Regions from separate parts of the Homo sapiens genome. Here regions 1, 2, 3, 4, 5 and 6 are each linked to region 7. Evidence: promoter capture Hi-C in 16 types of primary human blood cells and fetal thymus (Javierre and others, 2016). All regions are on one chromosome and are shown on one strand. Each heading gives the region's core, a stretch centred on a gene start or on the middle of the fragment in contact. The rest is flanking DNA. Distances are from core to core; before and after follow the strand shown.

The links. The method cuts DNA at HindIII sites, captures the fragments that hold promoters and counts their contacts. A CHiCAGO score of 5 or more calls a contact.
Region 1: a contact is called between a fragment that was not itself captured here and the fragment with the promoter of PSMB1 in region 7, in 1 of 17 cell types (M1 macrophages). The highest score is 5.8, in M1 macrophages.
Region 2: a contact is called between a fragment that was not itself captured here and the fragment with the promoter of PSMB1 in region 7, in 17 of 17 cell types (naive CD4 T cells, total CD8 T cells, total CD4 T cells and 14 more). The highest score is 26.9, in naive CD4 T cells.
Region 3: a contact is called between a fragment that was not itself captured here and the fragment with the promoter of PSMB1 in region 7, in 1 of 17 cell types (total B cells). The highest score is 6.1, in total B cells.
Region 4: a contact is called between a fragment that was not itself captured here and the fragment with the promoter of PSMB1 in region 7, in 16 of 17 cell types (M1 macrophages, naive CD4 T cells, total CD4 T cells and 13 more). The highest score is 14.8, in M1 macrophages.
Region 5: a contact is called between a fragment that was not itself captured here and the fragment with the promoter of PSMB1 in region 7, in 14 of 17 cell types (total CD4 T cells, naive CD4 T cells, monocytes and 11 more). The highest score is 19.0, in total CD4 T cells.
Region 6: a fragment that was not itself captured here is called in contact with the fragment with the promoter of PSMB1 in region 7 in 17 of 17 cell types (total CD8 T cells, monocytes, naive CD8 T cells and 14 more); the score reaches 39.1 in total CD8 T cells.

Annotation. Positions count from the first base shown.
Region 1 is chr6:169,669,996-169,673,775 of GRCh38, forward strand. WDR27 (WD repeat domain 27) reads right to left here. Exons shown (of 26, transcript NM_182552.5): 3 at 2,260-2,401; 4 at 574-698. Among named protein-coding and RNA genes, the nearest start is that of WDR27, 30 kb to the right of the region's middle. The HindIII fragment of the contact is 5,121 bases long and covers 1-3,780 here.
Region 2 is chr6:169,720,071-169,723,750 of GRCh38, forward strand. PHF10 (PHD finger protein 10) reads right to left here. Exons shown (of 12, transcript NM_018288.4): 2 at 935-1,041. Among named protein-coding and RNA genes, the nearest start is that of PHF10, 2.6 kb to the right of the region's middle. RefSeq lists a silencer at 3,532-3,680. The HindIII fragment of the contact is 1,516 bases long and covers 1,585-3,100 here.
Region 3 is chr6:169,589,900-169,593,832 of GRCh38, forward strand. The region is part of intron 23 of WDR27 (WD repeat domain 27); the gene reads right to left. Among named protein-coding and RNA genes, the nearest start is that of WDR27, 110 kb to the right of the region's middle. The HindIII fragment of the contact is 1,774 bases long and covers 1,388-3,161 here.
Region 4 is chr6:169,773,949-169,777,934 of GRCh38, forward strand. ERMARD (ER membrane associated RNA degradation) reads left to right here. Exons shown (of 18, transcript NM_018341.3): 14 at 1,322-1,398; 15 at 1,992-2,117; 16 at 2,507-2,725. Among named protein-coding and RNA genes, the nearest start is that of LINC00574, 14 kb to the right of the region's middle. The HindIII fragment of the contact is 856 bases long and covers 1,431-2,286 here.
Region 5 is chr6:169,739,001-169,742,621 of GRCh38, forward strand. DYNLT2 (dynein light chain Tctex-type 2) reads right to left here. Exons shown (of 4, transcript NM_174910.3): 4 at 1,109-1,295. The coding sequence ends at 1,185. Among named protein-coding and RNA genes, the nearest start is that of DYNLT2, 11 kb to the right of the region's middle. The HindIII fragment of the contact is 6,040 bases long and covers 1-3,621 here.
Region 6 is chr6:169,756,539-169,760,154 of GRCh38, forward strand. It overlaps ERMARD (ER membrane associated RNA degradation), which reads left to right. Exons shown (of 18, transcript NM_018341.3): 5 at 181-270; 6 at 2,430-2,527; 7 at 3,300-3,436. Among named protein-coding and RNA genes, the nearest start is that of ERMARD, 6.7 kb to the left of the region's middle. The HindIII fragment of the contact is 2,437 bases long and covers 804-3,240 here.
Region 7 is chr6:170,551,220-170,555,331 of GRCh38, forward strand. It overlaps PSMB1 (proteasome 20S subunit beta 1), which reads right to left and starts at 2,088. Exons shown (of 6, transcript NM_002793.4): 1 at 1,911-2,088. The coding sequence starts at 2,023. TBP (TATA-box binding protein) reads left to right here and starts at 3,150. Exons shown (of 8, transcript NM_003194.5): 1 at 3,150-3,244. RefSeq lists enhancers at 1,841-2,220, 3,031-3,420. The HindIII fragment of the contact is 7,721 bases long and covers 1-4,112 here.

The DNA.
Region 1 (3,780 bases), core at 986-3,485, 880 kb before region 7:
CCTACAAAATCAGGCTTGGGCAGAGCAACAATTCAGAGGAAACAAAAGTCCTCCTTCGTGTTCCCTTAGATTCCCACTTCCTGATTTCTAACACTGCTTTCTAACATTGCAATGGGGCAGCTGACTGTTCTAGTCACACACGAGGTCGAAATCACACAGGCAGGAAGAGGTGACACATTTCCTTTAACTAACCCTGGTGGGAAAAGTCTGATTCTTGATGAAAAGAACATTTTGATAAAAGATATAAACAAAAGCGCTATGCTAGGAAGGATGCCTACAATCAGGGAATATCTGAGAAATAATAGTTTTGCAGAACATGTTTCTCTAAAGTCATACCTGACACCCAGATTCCATAAAGAGTTTTAATATTTATATAAATATTGCTATCTGATACCAGTGGTTTTCCAATTGCAAGATAAAGATATGATTTTATAAAAGTAAACTAAATTGAAGATATAGCTTAAAAAAAAAGGAGTACAGGAAAAAAGAAAAGACCGCTGGGCAAGGTCCCAGAACCTGGGAGGCCCCATCAGCTAAACCCTTCCGTGAAATCCACGTGAATTTCAATCTTACCTCAATATCCAGCATGAATATTTTGTTTCCAGCACACACGGCAACAACATGATCATCCAGGCTCAACTGTAAACACAGCACCTTTCCCAAAAGCGAGCCCATGACAGTCCCTCGAGGGACCAGCCCTAGAGTGAGTTTCACCATTAGTGCCAGTTTACCAAATGCATTCAGCATTACATTAATCTGAGAAAAGTACTGAGAATGTAACCCTCTATTCTAAAATTACTGAGAGAATGACAATGAGCTTTGATGTGATTTTGATTCTTTAAGAATATCAAAAATACTGGATATACAGAAGTCTTCTGAAAACCTGGGGAATGCAGCACTTCCCTGCAGAGACTCTCTCAGCATCGAAACACGAAGATGCCTTTCTCTGGAGGCTGCAGTACCTGTGCAGTGAGAATCATGCACATCAAACTGCATGTTTCGATGCTTCTCACCCACATCCAACCCCATGTCCACCCTCATGTATAGGTTCAGCTAACATTGATTGGAAGGAAAGGAGTAGGAGCCTATCCAACCCAGGCCTCCAGGGACTAAGCAATGACAGGACACCCACAAGCAGCCAGGAGGTTCCCAAGACCCGGACATGTGCAGCAGCTGCAGCCTGATGCAGAGCCCGTCATGCAAATCCACACAGGTGAAAGAAAAAATGGCAGGCAAGGTCATCTGGTCCTAGTGTGTACCATGGACCTATCACCAGCAAAATGCAGATATACTCCACCCAGAGCCTGTGAGAGACACATGTGCTCATGTCCCACAGCCACCAAGTCTAGACAGAGACACGTGCTCATGTCCCACAGGCACCCGGAGCCTAGAGAGACACACATGTTCATGTCCCACAGCCACCCAGTCTAGAGAGGGACACGTACTCATGTCCCTACATAGAATACATAGATTTATAGTCTCTTTGCATTTATGTTTTAATGTAATCCTCTAACTTCTCTATATAATTGCACAAAACTCAAATTCCTTAACGTGGTCCCCACCTAACTTTTCGACTTCCTCAGATGAGACTCTCCTAACATCAGCATGCTCCAAGCACACAGGCAGGTTCTCACTCTTCCCAGGGCCTTGGCACCTTCATCCCTTCTCACCCTCACCCTCAGCGCACATGCCCCTCCGAGATCCTGCTTCTCAAAGGCTCCCATGCATGTGCACGCTGCCCTGGCCTCATCTGCCTTCTCCTCTGCACACTCACAATTCACAGCCACTCAGTCGCTGGCTTACACAGTGTCTCTCTCAAACTCTGAGCTGTGACTTCCACAGGATTTGGGACCAAGCCCTTCCTATTCACCACTGTGTCTCCAGCCTGAAATATTACAGGTGCTCAAGACCCCTTGCTGTGCAAGGAAAGAATATTTCAACTTTCCTACATGTTTTCAGGTTGATACAAAATGGACAGTTCTTAAAATAAAAAGGGACATAAGATCAAAACCAATGAGCCTATAAGATCAGCATAACAGACAGCAAAGGTCCGTAAGTCTGAATGGCCTGGGGCCCTTCCCATATAAAGCGCCTGCTTGCATGCCTGGGTTCAAGGTAAAGAGAGTACAAAATTATCCCAAACCCCCCGAGGGACTGCTGTTACCCAAGGGAAACACCCCTTGGGTGGTACCAAGTATACTGAAGGATGAGTTATTCCTTTTGCAGGTTTTTAAAAACATGTTTTAGATTTTCATTTACCTTGAAGTACTTTCTCTCTACATTCATCCAGGTTCCACATTATAACATAATCCAGTGATGCTGAGCAGATTAGAAGTGGGTTCACTTTATTTCCAAAAGCCATAGCAGTAATTGGCTGATGGTGTCCTCGTAGGATTAGAAGCTGGGAAAATTAACAAAAATAAAACACAGATCACAGACATTTAAAAATAAGAGTATAACAACATAACTTCAAACCTAAGAAATTAAAAGATTGAGTTTTTCAAATACATTTATCTTACATATTCATTGTTAATTCATTTGTTAAAATCCCTGCTATGTACTACTAAATTATTCTCTCAAGTTAACCATTTCACTGCTATTCACTGTCACACACACTAATAAAAAGATACAGGCTACCTCGTTCTTCCATTTATCACTTATTAGTTAATCAAATATAGAACATGTCTCCACCACATGCCAGAAGAGGTAACAGCTGAGCTGAAAACTGAAGAATAAGGAGAGGAATGAGGGGAGCAATGAGGTCCCTGGGAAAACAAGGCATGGGTAAGAAACGGCTGGGACAAGCAAAGGAGTGAGAGGAGGCTGGAGAAAGGTGAGGCCCAGGTGTGGCGACCTTGGCAACTACACAAGGAATGTTGATAGCACTCTAGGAAATTAAAATCCAACAAAAAATGCACAGTCAGAATAATACAGTGACTAGATTTGTTTTCCAGGAACAAAACATTGCTACAAGTATGGAGCAGACGAGTGTTGGGGGTATACTGGGCTGGAGAGACAGAAGGGAATGCATGAAACACTCAAGGGAAATCCAATAAAGACCTGGACTAAGAAAGACAGTGATGATGGAGATGGAGAGGAGATGGTGACTGAAGATTCCGTGACCAATGGATATGGAGGGATGGAGGGAAAAACAAAAGCAAAGGGATAGGGTTTGAGGTTAAAAACCTAGGCGAACAATGTCTCAAGAACAAAATACAGAGGGAAAATGGGATGGGACTGGGGGTCCATAGTAAGCTGAGATGCTTATAAGGCGATGTTAAATAGACAACAGGCAGTTTAATATGAGAGATATCACTGGAGAATTCCACTTCTAGTAAAGGCAGGATACGTCACCTCATTAGTACCAATCCTACTGATGAGAATTACAAGAAAAACTGGACAAAATTAAATATATATATACACACACACACACTATATATATATACAAACACACACACATATACATATACACACAGAGAGACACACATTTTGAAGGCATCAGAAAGCAACTAGGTCGTTGAAGAATTATGGTAACAAGATTATATATAGGGCAGAAAAAAACTGAGGGAAGTGACCCCAGATGCTGGGGTCACTTGTCCCATAAAGATATCTACTATAAAGACAATTTTCTGACAATTCCACTAAAGGCAGCTGAGGAGCTGAGATTCAAGGGGCTACGGGCACAAAAATGGTGTAATTAAATGAGTCATCCTCAGGGACACAAACAGAACTATCATATTGGGAGAAGGGAAAAGATTTCTGTCATATTACAAAGTAATT
Region 2 (3,680 bases), core at 1,093-3,592, 830 kb before region 7:
TCAGTAGGCATTATGAAAATGCAAATCAAAATCACAATAAAATATCACTCCACACCTTTTAGGGTAACTATTATTTTAAAAAATGAAAAATAACAAATTGGTGAGAAATATGAAGAAACTGGAAACTGTGAATTGCTGGTAGGAATGTAAATTGGTGTGCAGCCCCTATGGAAAACAGTTTGGCAGCTTCTCAAAAAATTAAACATAGGATTACCATATAATCCAGCTACTCCACTCCTAGATAAACATCCAAAAAAACTGAAAACACAAACTCTGAACACCAATGCTCACTGCAGCATTATTCACCTTGGCCAGAAGGTGGAAACCCAAATGCCCATCAACATCTGAATGGATAAACAAAATCAGTATATACATAAAATGGAGTATTATTCAGCCTTAAAAACAGAAAAAAAGTCTGACATATGCTACAAAGATGAACCTTGAAGATATTCAAAGTTCTAAGAGAAATAAGCCAGCCACAAAAGGACAAATATTTTATGGTTCCACTTATATGAAGTAACTAAGTAGTCGTATTCACGGAAATAGAAAGTAGAATGATGGTTGCAAGGCGCTAAATAGAGGGAGAAAGGGAGGTTATTGCTTAATGGTTATAAAGTTTGGGGTAGTGAAAGTTTTGGAAATGGATGGTGGTAATGGCTGCACAACACTGTGAATGTAACTGATGCCAATGAATTTCACACTTAAAAATTGTTAAAATGATTAATTTTATGTATGTATGTATTTTACTATCATAAAATTGCTTTTTAATTACACTCAGTAGCAAGACCAACTTTGATGGCACATTATAGAACAGGAAGAAAATATTCTACAATTTTTAATAATTGCCTTTGCCAGAGCTGGGGGAAAGGGAAGAGGATGTTAAGGCAAAGAGGAACATCACAAAAAATATTAATAACCGATAAAATGACAGTACCCAAGATCTTGACTTGAAGTTTCACAACTCCTAGAACTATCTCCTGAGCCCATTCGCCTCCTTTTGGATGGCTGGGTCCCATCATTTGAATTATCTTCATTATCATCCTATACATTTAAAAGATTCAAAAATAATAATTAGAGAAAGAATAAAAGAACAGTAAGTCTCAATAAATGAAAGACTGTCTAAGGACAACTAGTCATACAAGTATTAACTTCATATTATAATTAAAAGGGTCCAAGAGTTTGGCATGAGCAAGACCTGGAATAAAATTTAAAACTGATCTTCAATCCAATCCAAATAAGAACATTTTCAATGAACCCGTAAATGCAAATCTGCTTTGGTTTCTGCTCTTCATAAACATATCAAACTGCTGCATCACTCTAGGATTAAAGCAAACTCTCCTACCCAAGCTCAGGGGGAAAAAAATGTATGGATCATTTACAGTTCTCAATTCAACTTGAAGCCGGTTCATAGGACTATTTTAATTGACTACTTTAGGCATTTATGTCCCTGTGAAAAGGGGACATATGAGACCGAAAACAATTCTAACTATTCACTCTTCCTCTTACACTGCTAAAATTTAGCAAAAATATACCCTAATAAGGGTCATCAATCTATAATATAGCAGCACACACACCAAAAAAAGAAGCTTGAGAGGGGGAGGGGAATTTTTTTTTTAAAGAAGATTATATATTTTTAATGTAATCCATTATGTGGCAAGAACATCAAGGTTATAAATTCAACCATTTCATTCAGAAAAAGTATCAGATGTTAGGAAATTGATTTATTTACTTATTAGCCAAGGCTTAAAGTCTAAAAATCATAATTTTTTAATGTAATATAGCTTTCAACGCTAATCCAATTTTGCTAAATACTATAGTCCTCTTGCTACATATTAAAATGAAAGCAATCCTGCAAAAGAATATAAAGAGGCAATATGGTATAGTGGCCAGGCATGCCAGAGCTGGACGGCCTGGGTTCTCACTGGGCACTGTCCCTCACTAGCTGAGTAGGTTATTCTCTGTGAGCATCTCCTTATCCGAAAATTTGAGACTATAATAGTGCCCCATTACATGGCTAATTCAATGATTAAACGAGCTACTATATTAAAAGTACTTAGAACAAGGACTGGCGAGTTATCTGATAAATATTAGTTAAAATGATGATTATGATGATAATAAAGTCTCAAATGTCTCTAGCTCCTAGGAATTAACTGGTTCTTTTCCAAATAGTAAAATATATATTCTTTTTCAGTCCTTATAAAATAAGCATTTCATTAAAGAGCTTTGCATAGTCTAAATCTACTCTCTGAAAATTTGCATAAGTATCTGCATACAACTGCAACACTGCATATTCAATACTTTCAACATAACTCATTTTAAACATTCCAGTATTTTTTCTATTTTACTGGTGAGCATTTTAAGGATTTTTATATCCTTAAACTTAAAAACATTTTCCTTTAGCTAAAAAGTTGAGACACTCAAAAATATACAAAAATAAAGTTAAAAATGCAAAGTGCTCAAAAAAGCTGAGACTACAATTTCATCAAGTGTTTTAAATTACTACTACAAATTCTAGGCAAAGGCATTATTATATAAAGTGAGCATCTGGGCAGCGGGCCTTTTTCTTGAGGGAGGTAGTAACAGCAATATTGTTCCCAATACATGACGGAATAAGGTAAGAATTTCCGTGTAACCGCAATACTGATACAGAGGCCCATGTTTTCAAAGACTCCCAAACATACTAAATCAGAGATGTGCCTTCCAGAGTTACAGGTGGTTTCCAACTACAGATCAGATGAATTTCTATGCATCACATCCTTCCTAGGGCTCAGGGGTCAAGAATGCACTCAGGGGGCACTGGCTCAGTGCCCTCCAGGTGCCGGGCCAGACGTCAAATGCTGGAAGTGCAAGGATGTGCATTCAGAGTCTTACAATCTAGTTACTTCCATTGACGACAGCCTTTGAGGAACCTTCAAAATGAGTCTCACAGCACGGTGGACGTGCGCAACGGGAAAAGCTCCCAAGCAGGCGCAGCCCGGCTAGGCTGCTACAGGACGGCTTCCCCTGCCAACGCGCACACGGCACACCGCGCACCGCACGAAGGCTGGCTGGCTCTGCAGCATTCCAGTTCCCACCGCCTTCTAATTTCAATCCAATTTCAAGCTTCCAGGCTTTTAAAACATCATTCCTCCCTTCCAACTTTCTGTCACAAACTGCTAGCCTAACTTTAGAACCAAAACGTTTTGATGCGTGACACTACTGCTCATCTCCATTTTCTCCACAAGCACCAATTTCTTTTCACCTCCTCAAGCAGTAAAAAGTTTTAACAGACTTCCGCTGAAAACATCCGGACGCTTGCGTATTAACTTAGTTATTACAGTAAGTTCACTGAGTGTGTTGATTTTCCATATCGTTCGCCACTCGGTTTTTGCAGTAAGCGTTCAAACACTTCGGCAAACTATGCGCGGAATGAACGCTGAGCGAACGCGCGCTTCTGCAGGCCCCTCCGAGGCCAACTCTCTCGGCCCCGGGCGCGTTCCGTCCCACGGCTGGCCTAGGAGGAGGCGTTTTGGGGACAAGCTTGTCAAGCAGGGCCGGCTGCCAACTTCGGGGAAGCCGCGCCGCGTCCCCCGCCCGCCCGCACTTGTTGCTCGCTAGAGGCCGCGGGCTCACCTCGGGGCCCCGCCTCGCCGACCACCCCCGGTCTCAGGCGCGGCGCCCGGCCTGGGCCCACGCCCCCG
Region 3 (3,933 bases), core at 1,025-3,524, 960 kb before region 7:
AGAAAACAAACAGAGTTGGAAATAAAACCTATGCGGGTAAATCTTATGCCAGAACCAAATCAAGGGAAGCAATATTTTTCAGGCAAAAGATGAGGATGTGGCATAAATCTGTGGGTGCTGGAATAACGCTTGACTGCTCAAAAATGTTTTTACAAAAATTGTAAGGGACTGAATGTACTACTGAAGAAGAGAAGTGTTTTGGAAACAGGACTACACCGATTCATTACAACTATTTTGTAACTCTGTTGAGCCACATCTGTGAGAATGAAGTTTCTTTCATTTTTCCTTTCACAGAGTACCTAACGTGACCTTCATTTCCCTTTACCCAAATTAACCCCACAGCAGAAAGGAGACAAAGAATTACAAACAGAAGTGAGTGTTGCACTCCTGAAACTTGACAATGGTAGTGATATTTTCCACAGGGGAATCAACTATCATATTATGCTCACTTATTTTGCTTTTGAAAATAATTCCAGAAATGATATTTTCTGAATATTCTGCACATTTCTTCAGATACTGAATTTTTAGTTTATAAAAAAGTAAACTATTCTCAGAAGACCAAAACGTGCAAGATTTAAAACAAAGTCACACTAAGACAGAAGCCTTGCCTCCTTACAGCAAGAGGCAGAGGCTCTGTTAGAGAATTCCTGATGGTGGCACGCAGGGCCACCTGGCCGCCCGCCACACCAGCCATGGGAGGCGAATGGCACCATCTCATCAGGCTGCAAGGCTGACGCACAATCTCCAACTCTTGTCAACCTCCATCAAGGTCTGGCAAAATAAATATGGCACACACAGTAATAAACCCCACCCTTTTCTCTGGCACTTCCTCTTGTAAAGACGTAGCAGAACAGGGCACTGGTGTGGTACCACCCACCGGTCTAACCAGTGGACAGTGGTAAATACCTGAGGCAGCAGTAACTTTTTAAGGCCTGGGATAATATGCCATTCTGTGTCTACGCTCCATGTTCCTTATCCATTCCCCTGAGACGGACATTTAGGGTACTTCCACACTGTGGATACTGTGAAGAGTGCTGCAATGGCCATGGAAGCGCAGGTATCTCTTCCATATACGGATTTCAATTCTTTTGGACAAATACCCAGGAGTGAGATTGCTGGATCATGTGGATTCTACTTTTTGCTCTTTGAGGAAACAACACACATTTTCCGCAGTGGCTACCTCATTTTGCATTCCCACCGACTGTGCGGGAGCTCCCCTTTCTCCACATCCTCATCATCACCTGTCTTTCTGATATTCTAACAGGTGTGAGGTGGTGTCTCAATATGGTTTTGACTTGCATTTCCCTGATGATTGGTGATGTGAGCCCTTTTTTCCTGTACCCATTGGCCATCTGTATGTGTTCTTAAGCAAAATGTCTATTATTCAAGCTTCCTTTGGGCCATGATCTTCATCTGATAATTTCACCTACTGATGACATTTGCCTAAGTCAATTACTCCATCTGAGATTGAAGAGGGTGATTTTCTAATTCTGCCATTCATCCATTCTACTTGTCTGCAATTCTCTAAGAAATAACTTTCCCTTACCAAGTAGGGTATTTGGTTTACTTAAAATACAGTCCGAACAGGAAAGGCAGACAAATGTTTAATTATTTTCCTTTATAAGACACACTTCTGACTAAGGGACAGGTGCCCTAGTTACCTCCAAATGGGGACCAATGACATTTTATGTTTTTGTTTTTAGCTATAGCTTTTTGGGGGGAGCATTATCAAAAATGATGAGGGTTTAGATATACAATGTTGAAGTCAATCACAGTCATTACTCTTTGGATGGTCAGCTAGCCCTCCGCTGGCCAACAGAATACGGCACAGGTGTGGTGCTGCCCGCTGGTCTAACCAGCAGACAGTAGTGCATGCCTAAGGCAGCAGCAGCTTTAAGGCCTTGGGAATTGGCTGTTGCCTGTGGCCTTGTTATATGACTCCATTACCCTTTGATTTCTTTTCTCTTTGGCACAAGATGTCCCTGGCTCATCTTGTAAGTCTTCTGCCACAGACCTGGAACCAGCTCTCCACCCAGGGAGTTCTGGCTTCTATTAGTGGGGAACGGCATTTAGAGGTTGCAAAGAGGGTACTAAGGGTGATGGCTGGAATGTCACTGCTTCCAAGCACCTTCCGTGGCAGGAGCTAAGAAATACTGGTATTCGTGCACCAGTTGCACATGGTTTTAATTCGAAAGGCTTTCCAACAGAGGTTAACGGCTGACAGGGCAAGTTCTCCTCATCATCATGTTCTTTTTTCCGGGGGTATTTGGACCATTGTTACTTGTTTATTCTCCCAAGTAACTTTCAGTCTAACAGTACAGCTACAGAAAAACCTACTGGCATTTTGTTGTTGTTGTTGTTGGGGGAGTGTTAAATCTACACATTACCTACAGAGAACTGCCTTCTTTAGGAAACTAAATCTTCCTATCCAAGAACAAGTTAGGATTTTGCGTTTGTCCAGGTCTACACTTCTGGGGGAAAAAAATGTTCTTAATGCAGGTTTTGCAGAAATCTTGTTAATACCGGAATGGTTTATCCTTTTTGAGGCTATTCTCAATGAGTTCTCCTCTTCCACTATAACTTTTCAGAGGTTATTTTTTATATCTATAAAGACCATTGAATTCCATATATTAGTTTAAATACTACTACTAATCTTTCACTTAATTATTTTATTGTTCATATTGGCCACTAATTATCTTGGGTTTTCCAGATATGCAATCTTGTCACCTATGAATAATTTTAGCTGTTCTTTTCAGTGGTAATATCTGTTAAGTTGTCCTGTCTAATTTCAAGAGAAATACCTCCAATACCCTGTAAAATAGTCATGGAATTAATGAACATTCTGGCTCTGTTCCCAACCACAGAATGCCTCTAAAGTTTTCTCAGTAAGATGTCAGCTTTTGGGCTGAGATAAGCATTTTATCATTTGAAAGAGGCATTCATGGATTCCTCTTTTACCGGGTGTTTTAGCAGAAATGAATCCAGAATTTTATTGAAGCATCCAGGAACATGGTTATAAGAGTCCTCTTTTTGTATCAGTTAATATTATGAGGGAATTATTAGTGGATTTATTGATAGTGAATCATGCTTGCATTCTACGCATAAACCCCACTTGGACATGATAAATTATTGTTAATGCACTAATTCTATGTTCCTATTTAAGCTTTTCAATTGATATTCATAAATGAAATATAACTCCTTTCTGAAATTTCATCAAGTTTTCTATCAGTTATGGTTACTTCAAAAAGCAGTCTGATGTCTTCCTTATTTCTCTATGCTTTAAAACAGTTAAGTATCTTTGGGACTATTTGATGTTTAAGAGGTTGGTAAAATCCCCTGAGAAAGCACATGGGCCTGGTACTATTTCACAAGGAGTTCTTAGGAAACGTTCTCTATTTCTTCTACGAAAAGTGGCCTGTTAAATTTGTTTCTACTTTGGGGGCCAGTTTGATAAACTAAATTTCTGTGACTCAACCATTTGTATAGAGGCTTTCATATTAATTTGCACAAATTATGAGAAGCAGTCTCATGATTTTCAAAATCCTTCTGCTCCATGCTTCTGCCTCCTCCTCATTTCTTATTATAGATTAAGCTTTCTCTCTTTATAAAAAAAATTGCACTATTAAGTTTATTTTGTTGCTTGTGTTTTTAAAAAGCTAGTGTTTTGGCCAGGTATGGTGGCTCATGCCTGTAATCCCTGCACTTTGGGAGGCCAAGGTAGGTGGATCACTTGAGGTCAGGAGTTTGAGACCAGCCTGGCCAACATAGTGAAACCCCATCTCTACCAAAAATACAAAAACATAGCTGGGCGTGGTGGCGGGCGCCTGTAATCCCAGCTACTCAGGAGGCTGAGGCAGGAGAACCTCTTGAACCCGGGAGGCGGAGGTTACAGTGAGCTGAGATCGCGGCACTGAACTCCAACCTGGGCAACAG
Region 4 (3,986 bases), core at 609-3,108, 780 kb before region 7:
GGTGAAAATTTATAAATGAGATTACCTCTAAAAGGAAGCTGTAAAATCAACACACGGCGGGTCAGGAGAGATTTGCAAAGGCATTTTAAAGAAACGGTGCCTAGAGGCTGGGCGCAGTGTCTCACGCCTGTAATCCCAGCACTTTGGGAGGCCGAGGCGGGCGGATCACAACGTCAGGAGATCGAGACCATCCTGGCTAACACAGTGAAACCCCATCTCTACTAAAAATACAAAAATTAGCCGGGCGTGATGGCAGGTGCCTTGAGAAGTCTGAGGCCTCCTTGAGAATGCCTTAAGGAAAATACGGTCAGAAGGGGGTTGTCAACAGTGAAGTTGGGAAAACAGCCTTCTGGAGGTGTGGCTCGGAGGCAGAGCATCGGGCTGTGCTGGTCAGATGCCATTCCCCGTTGGCGCTGTGGACCAGCTTTACCAGTGGGGATGCCGTGCTTTCCAAGAGCAAGCCCTTACGAAGGTGGAGGTGGGCAGGTAGGGAGGAGGGAAGATTTAGGAAGGAAGAGGAGCTTCAAGAAGGCAGCCTTTGTCTTCTAACCAGAGCCACTGAGACTCCAGGCCATCCTCTGCTGTGCCCCATGGTGGCTATTTTGGGTACTTACCACTTCCTGTCCCCCTCCTGGCATCTCACAGGTATTCAGGCAGCTTTGCATCCTGGGCTTCCGTTATTCCTGCTGTTGATACCACCCACGCTCACTGGTGTCAGCAGCCACCGTTGTACTTGCTCATACGCTAGTGGGTTAGAAATGGGGAGCATCTGCCGAGGGATCTGTCTTGTGGCCTGACCTGGGCGTTGATGGCTGTGGTCCCCCAGGGCTTCGTGGGTGTCCCATCTGAGAAGGCTGGAAGTTGGCCAGGGGCTTCATGGGGGTCCTGCAGGGACAGTCCCAAGGTGACAGCTGCTGCACCTCGAGTGCGGCCTGAACTGGAGAGGCACCTGCACCTCTGACATGGCTTTGGATGCTGCACAGCATCGTCACACCTGCTGTGTTCTGTTGGTTCCAGGCCAGTCGCCAGAGCTCGTGCAGATTTGGTGGGGGCCTCCCTCTCAATGGCAGGTGTCCAAAGAACCTGTGGACATGGTCATAGCCACCCCAGACGTTCACTCCCTTCCAATCCACTGGTAGTTTCCGCAGCCTTCCCCCATCTGAATGTACTGAAGAACTGACACCCACCATCTGGTTTTAAAATGTTTAGAATTTGTAATAATTTACGTATTTTCTAGAGAGTGATGTAACATCCATAAAAACACAGATTTTCTAGGAAGTTACTGTGAAATCTACAAAAGCAATAAAACATTTCCTCCCAGGTGCTGAGCTGTGAGGAGAGCATCAGGGTTTGGGCTCTGCTGCCTTTCCCCGAAGAACTCACTCGGCAAGCCGTCAGGTGCGTGGCATCCTGGGGCCTGGCTGACCTCAAGCTTGTCTGGTACTATTAGTTTCAGCAGCATTTCTTCTTTAACGAGGCTGTGGGAAGATAAAAGGGGAAGGAGGAATTTCTGGGCCTTGGTGGCTGATGCAGGCTGTGGGGAGCTGGAAGTGTCGCTGAATGCGATCTTCCAACTGGCATGGGGCCCTGGTGGAGACTGAACATGGAACGAGAGGCAGGTTTTGTGGGTAGACAGTGGCGTCCATGAGAAGTACCCTGAGTAGATAGGAAGAAAGATGGGTCTGAAGCTCAGGAGAGAAGTAGGGATGGAGACATAAATTCTGGAATCGTAAACAACAGCAGACATCCTTGTTCAGCAGGAAGAATACGCAGGTGGTTCATCGTCTCGTCGTCACTGGACTTTGCTCTTGGCATATGGCATCGTTTGTTTCTCCACTGTATTGTCATGGTGGCTTTTTCCATTTTATATTTGAGGAAAGTGAGATTCACAGTCAGGTCGCTGCTCAGTGAACCATTGAACATTCTTGTGCACAGGCACTGATGTGAGCACTTTAATTGTCACGTATCTTTAAATATTTTCTGTTTTTCAGATTAGAAGATAATTCTGAAACAAATGCCTGCCACTCTTTGATTACAAAAATGACGGATGAGCTGTATCACCATATGCCTGAGAATCGTTGTGTGTTAAAGGACTTGGATCGTCTTCCTACTGAGACGTAAGTTCCAGGACATCCTGACAACTGTTGAAACATTGATTCAGCAGATTAGCATAGCAAACTTAGCATTTTCTATGTTTTAGATTTTATAAACTTGGTAGTAGTCTTAGAATCCCACTGTTACTGCTCCAGGAGGAATTATGAGATAAGTTTTGACAATCTCTGTGCAAGCTTGGCACATCTGATGAGGCTGTGAATGCCACATTCTGTTTGCCACAATTCAGTGTGTTTAGTTAACACTTGCCGCGTGTCACGGTTGTCCCTGCAGACCAACCAGCGATACGCCGCTAGCCCTGGCTCCCAGAAAGCCGCAGCCTTGCAGGTGCAGAAGGAGAGTGAGGCCCAGGTGAGGATCATGATGCCTGCTCCAAGTCTGGCTCTGTTTGCAGGTGGCCCCAGCTTCTCCGTGAGCTCTGCAGCACACCTGTTCCCACCCTGTTCTGCCCCAGGATTGTGCTGGAAGTGCTGGTTGTGCTCCGAAGCATCAGCGAACAGTGCCGCCGTGTGTCCAGCCAGGTCACCGTTGCCTCAGAGCTGAGACACAGGCAGTGGGTGGAAAGGACGCTGCGGTCTCGCCAGCGGCAGAACTACCTGCGTATGTGGAGTAGGTGCGCGCTCACTTTCCTGTTTTGGAGGGGCACTGTGGGGCAGGAAGTTGTCACAGATGCAGTTCTAGTCCTCACTTCCAGACACACACAGTAGCCCCTCACTGAACCCCATCGACAGGTGTTGATATACTTGGAGTCCACAACTGAGTGTGAACCCAAAGTATCTGAGACAGGTCTCAATCCAGTTAGAAAGTTTACTTTCCCAGGGTTAAGGACATGCTGTGACAGCCTCAGGAGGCCCTGACGGCATGTACCCCAGGTACTTGGGGCGAAGTTTGCTTTTACACATTTTAGGGAGACATAAGACATCAGTCCGCAGGTGTAAGGTGTACATTGGTTCCATCTGGAAAGGCGGGAAAATACAAAGGTGGGGGCCTTCCAGGTTATAGGTAGACAGGAGACAAAGGATTGCATTGTTTTGAGTCTTTGATGAGCCTTTCGGTGAATACACAATTTACTTGTGAGTGGGGGTAGAGGAATAGTCACTTAGACCTTAGTGTGGCTCAGTGAAGCTGCATTTTACATAGGGCAGAGGAAGCAATCATATAGGCATTTGTCTCAGGTGAGCTGGGGGATGACTTCCTGTCCCACACCTGGGAAGATCAGCTAGCAACTACATTGCCAGGGAGAAATTCAGCAGAACTCTTTCAGGGTAAAGATCTTGAGGCCCATGAGGAATTTCCTTGTGGACAAATTATGAGGGAGGTCTGTATGTAGCTTTTTTCTCTTTGTAGCCACCTTATTTAGGAATAAAATGGGAGGCAGGTTTGCCTGAGGCAGTTCCCAGCTTGGCTTTTCCCTTTGGCTTAGTGAGTTTGGGGTCCTGAGATTTATTTTCCTTTCATGATAGAAACAAAAGTTAAGTTCCCACAGCATGTTTCTGGTCATACAAATATTACCAAGCTTCTAAATGAAGACCCAAAACACTTACAATGTTAAACATTGAGGTATATATGAACTCTATGGACATTTAATAAAGATGAATTAAAAACAAGTGAGATAACCACTCAGTGTTTGGTGAGGCAGTGAGTGATGGCAGTCCAGGTGGTGGTTAAATGAGGCAATAATGTTTGCAGAGCAAGACCTCCCCAGGCCCGCCCCCCTTCCCCCCACCCACAGCTCCAGCGCCAACAGGAACAAATGTGTGGGTCACTGAGCACTTTTGTATCTGTCACTTACTGTCGAGCACTTGTATGATTATGGTAGACTTTACAAGTTCTTATAATTTGTATTCATTCATTCATTCATTTTCCAACCTGCT
Region 5 (3,621 bases), core at 1,115-3,614, 810 kb before region 7:
CTTCTCTGCCATTTTTATCTCCTTGTTTATAGATAATTCAACTAATAGGTATTTTTACTTGTCAATATTGACATGGTTGTTTTCAGTTCTGGTTGTAATGATGAAAATCATACTGATTATCACAGGTATTGCTTGCCTCCCACAAGTGCACACCCTGCCTCCCTGCTAGAAGAGTCCCAATTTGTACACTGGATCCACAATTTTCTCCTTTTTTTTTTTTTTTTTTTTAAGAGATGGAGTCTTGCCATGTTGCTCAGGCTGGTCTCAAATTCCTGGGCTAGAGCAATCCTCCCACCCTGGCCTTCCCATGTGCTGGGATTATAGGAGTGAGCCACTGTGGCTGGCAAATAGCCACACTTTTCACATGATCTCACGCTTCAGAAAAGGTAGGCTCCAGCCCCAATCTTAAGGAGGGAATTACAACTGGTCTAGTCATAGGAACATGATTAAATTCTGTCAAGCAAAATGAATGTACGTGGAAGTCTGTGGGGAGAATGGGAAGTTGGAGAGAACCTGGATCCTTGATCAAATCCCTGGGAAATAAAATTTTCCTCATTTCTTTAAACAATTAATATGAATTTTCAGTTCTTGCATCTGAAAAAAAGATCCTAGAAGGCTCACAGAGCCTAACAGAGCCTAATAGATTAGTAAATTGACTACACACTTGTAAGCAGTTTGGCTGGAGCGGGAGGATATTAGGGAATTATGAAATATAATAACATCTTTCTTTCAAACTTGGTAATTCCTTTCAAAACAATGAATACAAAGTATTAAAATATCATTAGAAATTTCCAAAATCTATCTTAACATCTACTGAATTTGATACTTTACAAGGTTGCATTTTAATTTCCTGTAGCAAATTATCATTTTCTTAAATCTTACAAAAATGATATTTTCCCTATACTCTACTATAAGAATTTGTATATACATACATATATACACACACAGACACACATGCATACACCTTTTATACTACTTTGGCATAATATTATGTTAGTTAATATAACAGTAAGTATAAATATAAAAATCTGGCTTCTACTTTGTTGTTAAAATAATACAATTGAAAGGCCTCAAATGAGAATAAGAATATAGCAAATCAGAAATATTATGAGGTTTACAAATATGTAAATTTCATTTATTTTTGAAAAGTTCGGAAGTAAACAATCCTTAGTACCTGTAATGAGCTATTCATAATAAAGGGCAAACACCAAGACCAGTGCCACGTAGGATTCTGCTTCGTGTTTAGCTGCGACCCAGCTGTCCCATGCAATGTCCCAGATCCATCTGCTGGCAATCTGTGAGAGAAATTTTGTAAAGACCAACTTTAGATTGAACATATTAAGAAGTAATTTTCAAATCTACACTAGTTTTTTAAAAATGAATGCATCAGTATCTCAGAAATTATTTTTAAGATGTAATTTGTCTGGTTTTCCCTTTCATAAAGAGCCTGGAGAATGACGCTGCCCCAGCCCATCCTTCTTCTTTACCGGAGGCTGGCCTTTCTCTAAACAGAGAGAGGCTCCCTTAGCTGTGTTTCCAGGGCCAGGAGCAGAAGGCCCCTGGGAATGGGGATGTAGTGGCTCTGCATACAGTATGACTCTGCCATGTAGTCCATGATAAGGAAGTCTTCCCACCCTTTAAAGATTTTCAGCCAAAGAGGTTTGTCAGGGCCTTGCCTTGAAATGAAGAAATGGCAGTAACTATACAAGTAGGCTGTTACGGACAATTCTAACTCCTTTTCTCTGTGTACAAACCCATATGTGATCTGATTCCAGCCCACTTCTTTGTGGAGGATCTAAAATGGCCCCAATTTTTTTTTTTTTTTGAGACATAGTTTCACTCTTATTTCCCAGGCTAGAGTGTAATGGCGTGATCTCGGTTCACTGCAACCTCCACCTCCTGAGTTCAAGTGATTCTCCTGCCTCAGCCTCCTGAGTAGCTGGGATTACAGGTGCCTGCCACCACATCCAGCTAATTTTTGTATTTTTAGTAGAGATGGGGTTTCACCATGTTGACCAAGCTGCTTGAACTCCTGACCTCAGCTGATCCACCCGCATCAGCCTCCCAAAGTGCTGGGATTACAGACATGAGCTACCACGTCTGGCCGAAAAAGGCCCAAATTCTTTATGGCTTCTCCTATTAGGAAGTTGACTTTATGTCCCCACCCTGTGAATAAGTCTTGGCCTTGTGACTTGCTATGAGTTGTAAAATATGACACTGTGAAACTTCCAAGCAAGGCCTTCAGAGGTCTTGTAGCTTCTGCTCTCACACTCGTGGAACACTATGCTGAGACCCCCATGTTATGAAAGCCCACTCAACCTATTGGAGGATGCTGGCTCACATGCAGGAGAACCCAGGTGCCCAGGCCACAGCTAGCCCACCAGTCAGACAAGTGACAGAAGCCATCTTGGACCTGCAGGCCCAGGTAAGTCATTAGAGGGCTACAAGTGCATCAGTGAGACCAGCAGAAAAGCCAAGTAGCTGACCCAGGCTGAGCTGACTCACAGAAAGTAAGCAAATACATGGCTGTTGTTATAAGATACTCAGTTCTGGGGTGGTTTGTTATACAATAATATAAGCTGAAACATTCCCCCACTGCACATCATGCCACTATCTACTAGCTACTAGTCCAGCTACACTTGTTACATATCAAGCACTCCAAGTCATCCCTGCCTCAGGATCTTTGCACTTGAAGTTTTCTCTGCTTGGAACATTCTCCCTTCTCTTTGGTACAGCTGGTTCCTTCTTATCTGAACATCAGAGGGTTCTCCCTTCTCTAAACAATCCCAAGTAGCCACTCTGCTACTCTGTCATATCCCTACCTTAATGTTCTCTTTGTAGCACTTATCATCTACAACGTCCCTATTTCTTAAGTCTGTATGTCATATGTGGTGCAGCTTCTCTTCTCCATGGGAGCCAGGACGGTTCTTTCTTGCTGACTGGCGGTTCTCTCGCCAGTACCCCTCTGCCAGTCCAGGTCCCCCTCCCCATGCTTCATCATGCAGTCCACTCCTCTATGGAACCTCTACAGATTCTTCCAAACACAGCTTTTTCTCTCTTTTCTCTCCAACTCCCACATATTCCTTACCAACTCCTTACATAATTACACAGCCTAGTGATATTATCTCTTTATTAATAAATAATGTTTATAATTACCTTGCTGTTTATTGAGGGCTCTGTGCTGGTGATTATGTTAAGGATTTTAATACAGATAATTTCATTTAATCTTCACAACAGCTCTAGGAAGCCAGTTTTATCATCACCATTTTATAGATGAAGAAACTGTGCCAAGGCCACAGCCAGCAAGTGTGGCAGAGGCAATCTGACTCCAAAACCCAGGCTGTTTACATTATCCCTATCATTTTATTTCCCTGAATTCTAAATTGTGCTGCTTTATCTCCTTAAGTAGAGTAAAATCTCCTTGAGAATCATGGTCCGTGTTTTATCATTCCTTGATTTTCCTTAGTACCTAACACCTATTAGTGCCCAAAATAAATTTACTGGTTAACTTAAATGACATTAAACTGTCAAAATTGATATGATCAAGGAACAGAATAGCAGTGCAATTTAATAAATTAGTAGTACCAAATTGCTACTTCTAGGTTTGTACTTTTCTTTCTT
Region 6 (3,616 bases), core at 772-3,271, 790 kb before region 7:
AAGATAAAATCATTTAGTATGAATTTTTAATATTTCCCTTTTGAATGATTATGAAATCAAAGGATTGGTGTCTAAGTACTTTTCACCCTTCATTTGTACAAACAGTTGCTTCATGGATAATGTTTTTAATGTTTATTGGCTCATAATACAACTGTTACACAATTTTTGTTTGAATTTTAGGTATTTTTACTGATTGGGAAGGAATGCCCCTTTCTTTTAAGAGATCTGCTTTCATCTGAGGAGCTTGCTCAAGTCTTCAGTCAGTCTGTGGTAAGCTTGTTCATCTAAACTCATGGAGTATATTAGTCCGTTTTCATGCTGCTGTTAAAGACATACCCAAGACTAGGAAGAGAAAGAGGTTTAATTGGACTTACGGTTTCACATGGCTGAGGAGGCCTCAGAATCATGGCAGGAGGAGAAAGACATTTCTAACAGGGCGGCAGCAAGGGAAAAATGAGGAAGAAGCAAAAGTGGAGACCCCTGATAAACCCATCAGATCTCATGAGACTTATTCACTATCATGAGAATAGCACGGGAAAGACCGGTCCCCATGATTCAGCTGTCTCCCCCTGCGTCCCTCCCACAACATGGGAGAATTCTGGAAGATACAATTCAAGTTGAGATTTGGGTGGGGACACAGCCAAACCATATCACGGAGTAAGTGCAAAACAACAATTCACATATGCTGAGCTTTTGTTCTTCCCAAACTGATGATGCTTTAGGGAAAAATTGTATCAGTGATTCAAGCATATTCTCCCTTCCCACCTTCCCTTTCAAAATTGCCCCTCCTCCAGCACATAGAAAGCTTTCCTATCCCGAGTGTGAATAACTCTGGGGCACCACAGGGCCAATGTGAAGCATGTTGCCTCGATCAATTACATATTAATAACTATAATACTAAATCCAGAATACAACTTTAACCCTTTAAATGAGTGATAATACAGTTTTATTTGAAAATTTTAACGTGAAATTATCTTTTGAAACCATTTAAACTTACAGTGGAAAAAAATTCAGATGTTAAAAAAATCATGCAGTTACTATACTATATTAAAATCTCATAAAGGGCACATGATCAAGAGACTTAGGACTAATGAATAACCTTAGGCAGCTGATTGAGGCAGGGTCAAGATGGAGAAACCCAGAAGAGCCTTGTGTGGAAGCTGTGCTTGCCAAGCCAGGGTGCTAGATGATTTTTGGAGTAAAGAAATCTGTCTTCAGTGGAGCTTTTCCATTCTTTTCTGTGGATCTTTACTCCTTGTCCGCTTAAAGATCATTTTCTTTTGTGGAGTGCATGGAATGAAGATAAAAAGTACAAACCTCTTGTTACACTGAATTCTCAAACACATTTTGTTTCTTCGATCTGTTCTTTGGTACTTGCTTATATGTGATGGGCCTTCTGCCCACTTGTGGCCCCTTCAGCTGCCAGGTCACTGGCATTTATACATCTGATTGACCAGATAGTGTGAACCATGAGTATTTCACAAATTATTGGTAGAGCAAAAAGATCTCCTGAAGTTGCATAGAAGAACTGCTTGTTAAATGTTCCAACATTCAGTAGAACTGCTCTTGATCATTTCCACCTCCTGGTTTTGGGTCTTCCCCTTGAGGGAAGTTCAGAATGCGTCCATATTCCCTTCTCAACAGCCATCTTTCACATGCATGAAGACAGTGTTCACTTCCTTCTCGAGTCTTCTGGAGGCTCAACCATACTTTCTCCTATGACATGAATTCTTTTAGTCTTTGAACATCTTCCATTATGTTCTGAGTTTCTTCTAAGTATGGCGCCTCAAACCCAAAGCAGTTCTCTGGGCATGACATGACTGCAGTCCATTTATTAGGACGCCTGGTTGGGTGTTTTCTTCACTCTGTAGATAGATGGTGGGGTGGATAAGTGATGGGCTTCACGTCAGACAGCTAGGAAGTGGAGGCTCAAGCCTGGAGCCATGCTGCTCGGGCATCTGCCCTGCTGCCTCTGTTTAACCACACAATTGCGTGCTGCTTAATACAGTGATATGTTTCTGCTTATCATATCATTGTCTTTTTACATTTTATTTAGATATTATGCACATTTGAAGCAACTTTATTAAAGCAGGATAACCTGGGTCAGATCTTATCCCCCATATTGATTTTGTAGCCTTTGAGACCTTGGTTTCACCTTTCCATGCTTGTATTTTTTTCACCTAGATGCTGGGGATAATCATAGTACCTTCCTCATAGGTTGTTCTTAGGATGAATGAGTTGATGTACATGTACAAAATGTGTCTAGCACATATTAAACACTCAGTAAATGTTGGTTTTATTATTACTGCTATATACTAGCCAAAACTGTTGACTCTCAGTTAAAAAGAGGAACACAAATGTTATCTTCATACTATATTGGTTTATTCAGTAATTCAGTATAATTAACTATGTAATGATTTGCGGATTAGATGAATGTGCTAAAAGTCTTCGTTGGCTCTCCGTGTGGTCTCAACCTGCGTAACGTCTTATGGCATGGGTTTGCGTCACCTGAAGAAATTCCTCCAAAGTAAGTTGCAAGTGAAGACATTTTCTTCCTTTTTTGGATCTACCAAAGAGTTTTTTAAATTTTGAATTTCATGAGAAGGAAATAGATTTTGTGAAAGATAAGTGAGTTTTGAGATAGGATTTTGAAGCTAAAATTGAATATTACTAGTGTAGTCACCAGAGTGATGACTGGGTTATAATTTCAGTGACTTACACCCCAAAGGCAATTCAGGGGTGACACCAGAAGGATGTTATGCCATTCACGTCCTGGGTGGGTGGGAGACCCTGAGTTTCATTAGGGTCTTCATCAGAGTGTCTGTGGTGCTGTTGTGCTGCCCAACTACTGCACAGTCTAATTCCTACATCGAGAGAATTTTGTGCAATTTTTTTTTTTGAGATAGAGTGTCACTCTGTCACCCACGCTGGAGTGCCATGATACATTCTCAGCTCATTACAACCTCCTCCTCCCAGGCTTAAGTGATCCTCCCGACTCAGCCTCCTGAGTAGCTGGGACTACAGGCACACGCCACTATGCCCACCTAACTTTTTTGTATGTTTTGTAGAGATAGGATTTCACCTTGTTGCCCACACTGGTCTCAGACTCCTGAGCTCAACTGATCTGCACGCCTCGGCCTCCCAGAGTTCTGGGATTACAGGCATGAGCCACCGTGATCGGACAGTTTCATGCAATTTAACTTTGCTTTCTTAATTTTAAATTTGTATTTTTCACAGTGAAGCTTTTTATAGGCATGATTGAGTACATTTTTGTAACAGATCTCTATGGTATTTCCTAGATACTGTTCAATGATGATACTGTTGACGGCAGGATTGGGTCAGTTACTGAAGAGTTACCTTCAAAACACTAAACTTACATTGGCACATCGCTCTTTCATATCTCTTACAAACCTCGAGGATTTGATTGTTTTTCCTGGTAAGTACTATGTTTCACATTTTTCCTTATAGCTTTGCGTAGATATTTGCAAAGTCAGTAAACAGCATTAAGAGGTGCACTCTTGAGGTGGGGTGAAGTAGTTGTTCTTCAGTAGTCGGATGGCTTTCAGAGTTGCTTGAAGAACCTCCTACATTTTACCACCCAAAGCCCTGCCTCCTC
Region 7 (4,112 bases), core at 838-3,337:
GCCCTGAGAGCAGAAAAACCAGTTAAAAATGTTTTACTGAAGAAGCCGAATCGAGGGACTCATGAGAGGCAGAACTGGAAAACCAGATTTGGGAGTAATCCTCCCAGCAATGAGACATGAAAGAGTGCTGAGCGATAAACAAGGCGGCTAATGACTTAACTACATTTAAAGACAGAGTAGGAAAAGAGAATGAGGCCTCATTTTGCGGAAGCGAAGGCTGCCTGAGAGCCAGCTGCAGTAAACACTAAAGAAAAAGAACAATGACTGAGAAAAAGTAATCAGAAAGATCTAAGTAATTTTTAGGGCAGTAATGGCTTAAACTGGATTACAAGGGATTAAAAAGTGAGTAACGAGTAGGGCATACTGAACACTGAAAATTCTTATTTATAGAGAATAGCCTTACGAAACGGGTCCAATAACCCTCCCTACAATATACAACTTAATTAGTCATCACAGGAAGTGTTAAGGTGTATAATGGAAAAGCATCCATAAACTCAGTGGTGAAATAGCTATGAATTAAGTCCTGGCTCAACTTCACACCAGCTCTCTGACCCTGACAGTTTAACGTCTAATATAACCCTAGGATGCTAATATCATCTAACATTCACTTTTCATGAGGATTAAATAAGATGACAGCTTGCAATTTACAAAATGCATCTCTCTTGATTCTCACCAAAAACTATGAAGCTACTAAGGAAGATAAGGAAATTTAGGTTCAAGAAGTTCAGAAGTACCCAAAGTGTCCTTTAGTGGCAGAACCAAGGCTAAAATCAGACTTTCGTTATCTTTCTAACACACTCCCAAAATGTGCATTTATATTTCAAATTTATGAGGAACCAATTAACATTTTTGCTTTGTTTTTAAAATTTATTTTTGTAGAGATGGGGTCTTGCTATGCTGCGCAGGCTGGTCTTCAACTCCTGGCCTCAAGCGATGATCCTCCTGCCTTGGCTTCCCAAAGTCCTGGGATTACAGGTGCGAGCCACACTGCCCAGCCAATATTTTCTGTTTTAAGAACCATCGGTTCGTTCAAATTGCGTGTGTATATTTTAATGTACAAGGCTTGATTGGTAACTATAACCACTGTTTCAATTTACAGCTCTTCCCTGTCAAGAGTCTTAAACAGAGCATCTTTCTATAACCCTAAATCTCTGGCGTGCCACCACGGAAAATTATACTACTCAAGATAAAGCTGGTAATTAAAATAAAAACCAAAACTTGAACATAACATACAAGAACACACATACTAAAAGGTCCATCTTCTGAGTATTTTGTTTTCCTGAACTTAAGCTAAACGTTAAAAAAAAAAAGCACTTATCTATGAAACTAAGTTTGCTCAGCCAATCCCACCTTCTATTTGAAATAAAACAAAATGATTAAACTGCTACAATTAGAAATAACAGAAATCAGGCGGCTACAATTAGACATCTCGGCTACCAACCCAGCTATGCATCTAACAACACAGACCAAACAACCCTAACTTTTAAGTTTCAGACGCTAACCCTCTACCCTCGCCGGCTGGCATAAGAAACGTGTACATGAGGTCCAGTTTTAATGGTCTTCCACAGAGCAGAGGCTATGTTTCAATTTCTACTTTACTGTCTTACAGCAGCAAGGAGCACGGAGTGGCGGTCCACATAAAAACTCAAATGACATGACTGTAATGGGAAACCCTAAAAACCAAGGCTGTATCGCAATCACCAAGTAAACTTGAGCAAAGCGAGCCTGAAGAGGGAAACACAGGGCATGAGAGGACGGCAGGGAGACCGGCCTTGTGCGGACCCCCTCAGCTCAGGGTTCTGAGGCCTGCAGGAGCCCGGGGCAGCGCCATCACGGCGGTGACTCCTAAATAGGCTTCAGCAGATGGGGGAAGGGCGAAAGTGAAAGCCGCAGCTCTCTGGGGTTTTTACCCTCCGTTGAAAACGTAGGGCGAAAATCGCAGCTGCAAAGGGCCCGCGGCTCTGTGCGGTTCCATCCCCAAGTCTCTGCCAGGAGCCGAATACATGGCTGTAGAGGACAACATCGCACGGCTGCGCCTGCGGATCCGACACTTGCTGTCTCACGGCGAGATGGCTGCCTTGACCGGACGTTACGCCACTTCCGGCTTCTCCTGAAGTTCGCTCCCGGCCTCTCTATCTCACGCTAGTCGTTGCTCCTGGAGGGCTGCACGGCGGCTTGTCCCTTTGGTAGTTGAATCCCGCCCATTCCAAAAAGCGCTGACAGGGATGTAAAGGGTTTTTTTTGTTTGTTTTTTGTTTTTTTCCCCCTCGAAGAAAACATTGGAATTCACCCCAATGGACAAAAATTTAAGTCTGACCATACAAAAAAATTGTCAGAACTATGGCGCAACGGCAACTCGAATAACGGTGGGAACGTTAATTGTCCTGGCTAATAAAAAATGTATATAACATTTCCTATCCTTAAAGAGCTCACAACCTCACTGATAATAAAAAGTACAAAGAAAACAAGCAGTATAACATATGATTACGCCACAATGAACTACAGAAGGGAAAATCAAGGCGTGCTGAAGTCCCACTAAGAAACAACTGCGGAAAGAGCCATGTGACAACAGTGCATGAACTGGGAGTGGCAGAACTGAATATAAATGCATGTGTAAACACAAGCTGTTTGTTTTGCTTAGTGTTCCTTGTCATTCTACACGCTTGAAGATCAGCTAGCGTTCTTGCTGACAGGTAAGGAGGACGCGCTTACTGAGTGCCAAGCACTGCTCAGGCACTGATTCTGTCAATCTCTGTCAATCTCCCGACAGCCCAAGGGTAAGCACTGTTATCATTATTCAATTTTACAGAAAAAAAATGCGGGGGAGAGGTCAGGTAACTTGTCGAAGGTAACGCCGCTAGTTGCTTTAAACAACAACAACAACAACAACAAAACACACTCACACATATACACACACACGCCATTTAAAAATCGATCTTTCCTACGTCCAGCAAGGGCCAATTAGAGATGGCTGTGGCACGGCGGCCCCGCCCCGGAACTCCTCAAGAGCTTCGCCCCTCCTTACCTATGGAAACACAGGAAGTGACCTATGCTCACACTTCTCATGGCCTCGGCCCTAGTGGGAGCAACTCGCTGAAGCCGAGGGCAGAACTGGCGGAAGTGACATTATCAACGCGCGCCAGGGGTTCAGTGAGGTCGGGCAGGTTCGCTGTGGCGGGCGCCTGGGCCGCCGGCTGTTTAACTTCGCTTCCGCTGGCCCATAGTGATCTTTGCAGTGACCCAGGTAACAGATTGTACTCTTTTCTGACGGTTCGGGCGAAGGCCACCACTGCACTGAGGCCTGGGGGCAATGGTGGGGAAGAGACTAGGAATTGGCGCGCGTGCAGGCCCCTCGGGGGACGTTCCTCCCTTTCGTGCTGCCGCCGTTCCGGCCTGTAACGGCCACTCGGCCGCCACTCCCGCCTGGTGCCCTACTCTGCTGTGTTTCGCAGGCAGCTTCCCATCGTACGATTGTGGGGCTCAGGGTACTACTGGCTGGCTGGGCGGCGGCAGGCGGGACAGGACAGTCCCTTGCATCGAAGACCCTAAGTTTACCCTGCCCTGTCCTGCCATCCGCTTCTTCTCCATGTTAGAAGCAGATTCACCCAGATCTGTGCCCGCCTGTTTTGCTGCCAACATTGAGACTTAAATATTTTGTCAGAAGCCTGAGACAGCGGGCACGGTAGCGCTTAAGATATAATACACACCACTTTATTTGCAGGGTCTCCCGTCTCTCGGTTCAGGCCATCATGGTTTTCCAAATCTCTAGGTAGACTTTTCTGTGAAAAGACTGTGCTTCATTTAGTTATACAGACACTAGAAGGCTATGCAGAATTAATTTGATTGCCTCCAAAAAATATCGGATTTGATGTTTCAATTTCCAGGAGATGAAGATACCCAGCAAACAACTCTTTTCTGAGGATAAATTAGTGCAGTAATCACTGTGCGGTTTCTTCTGTAGACTTACTTGCAAAAAGTGGCCTGAAGCCACCGAAGGTCCTGGATAAATCTCTAATCATACTTATAATGGCTTTAAATCCTGCCGTCATTATCTCTTGCCTCAACCTTAGATTCCTGAAACGAAACTTCCGTCCTCCAGTTTTACTCCTCTC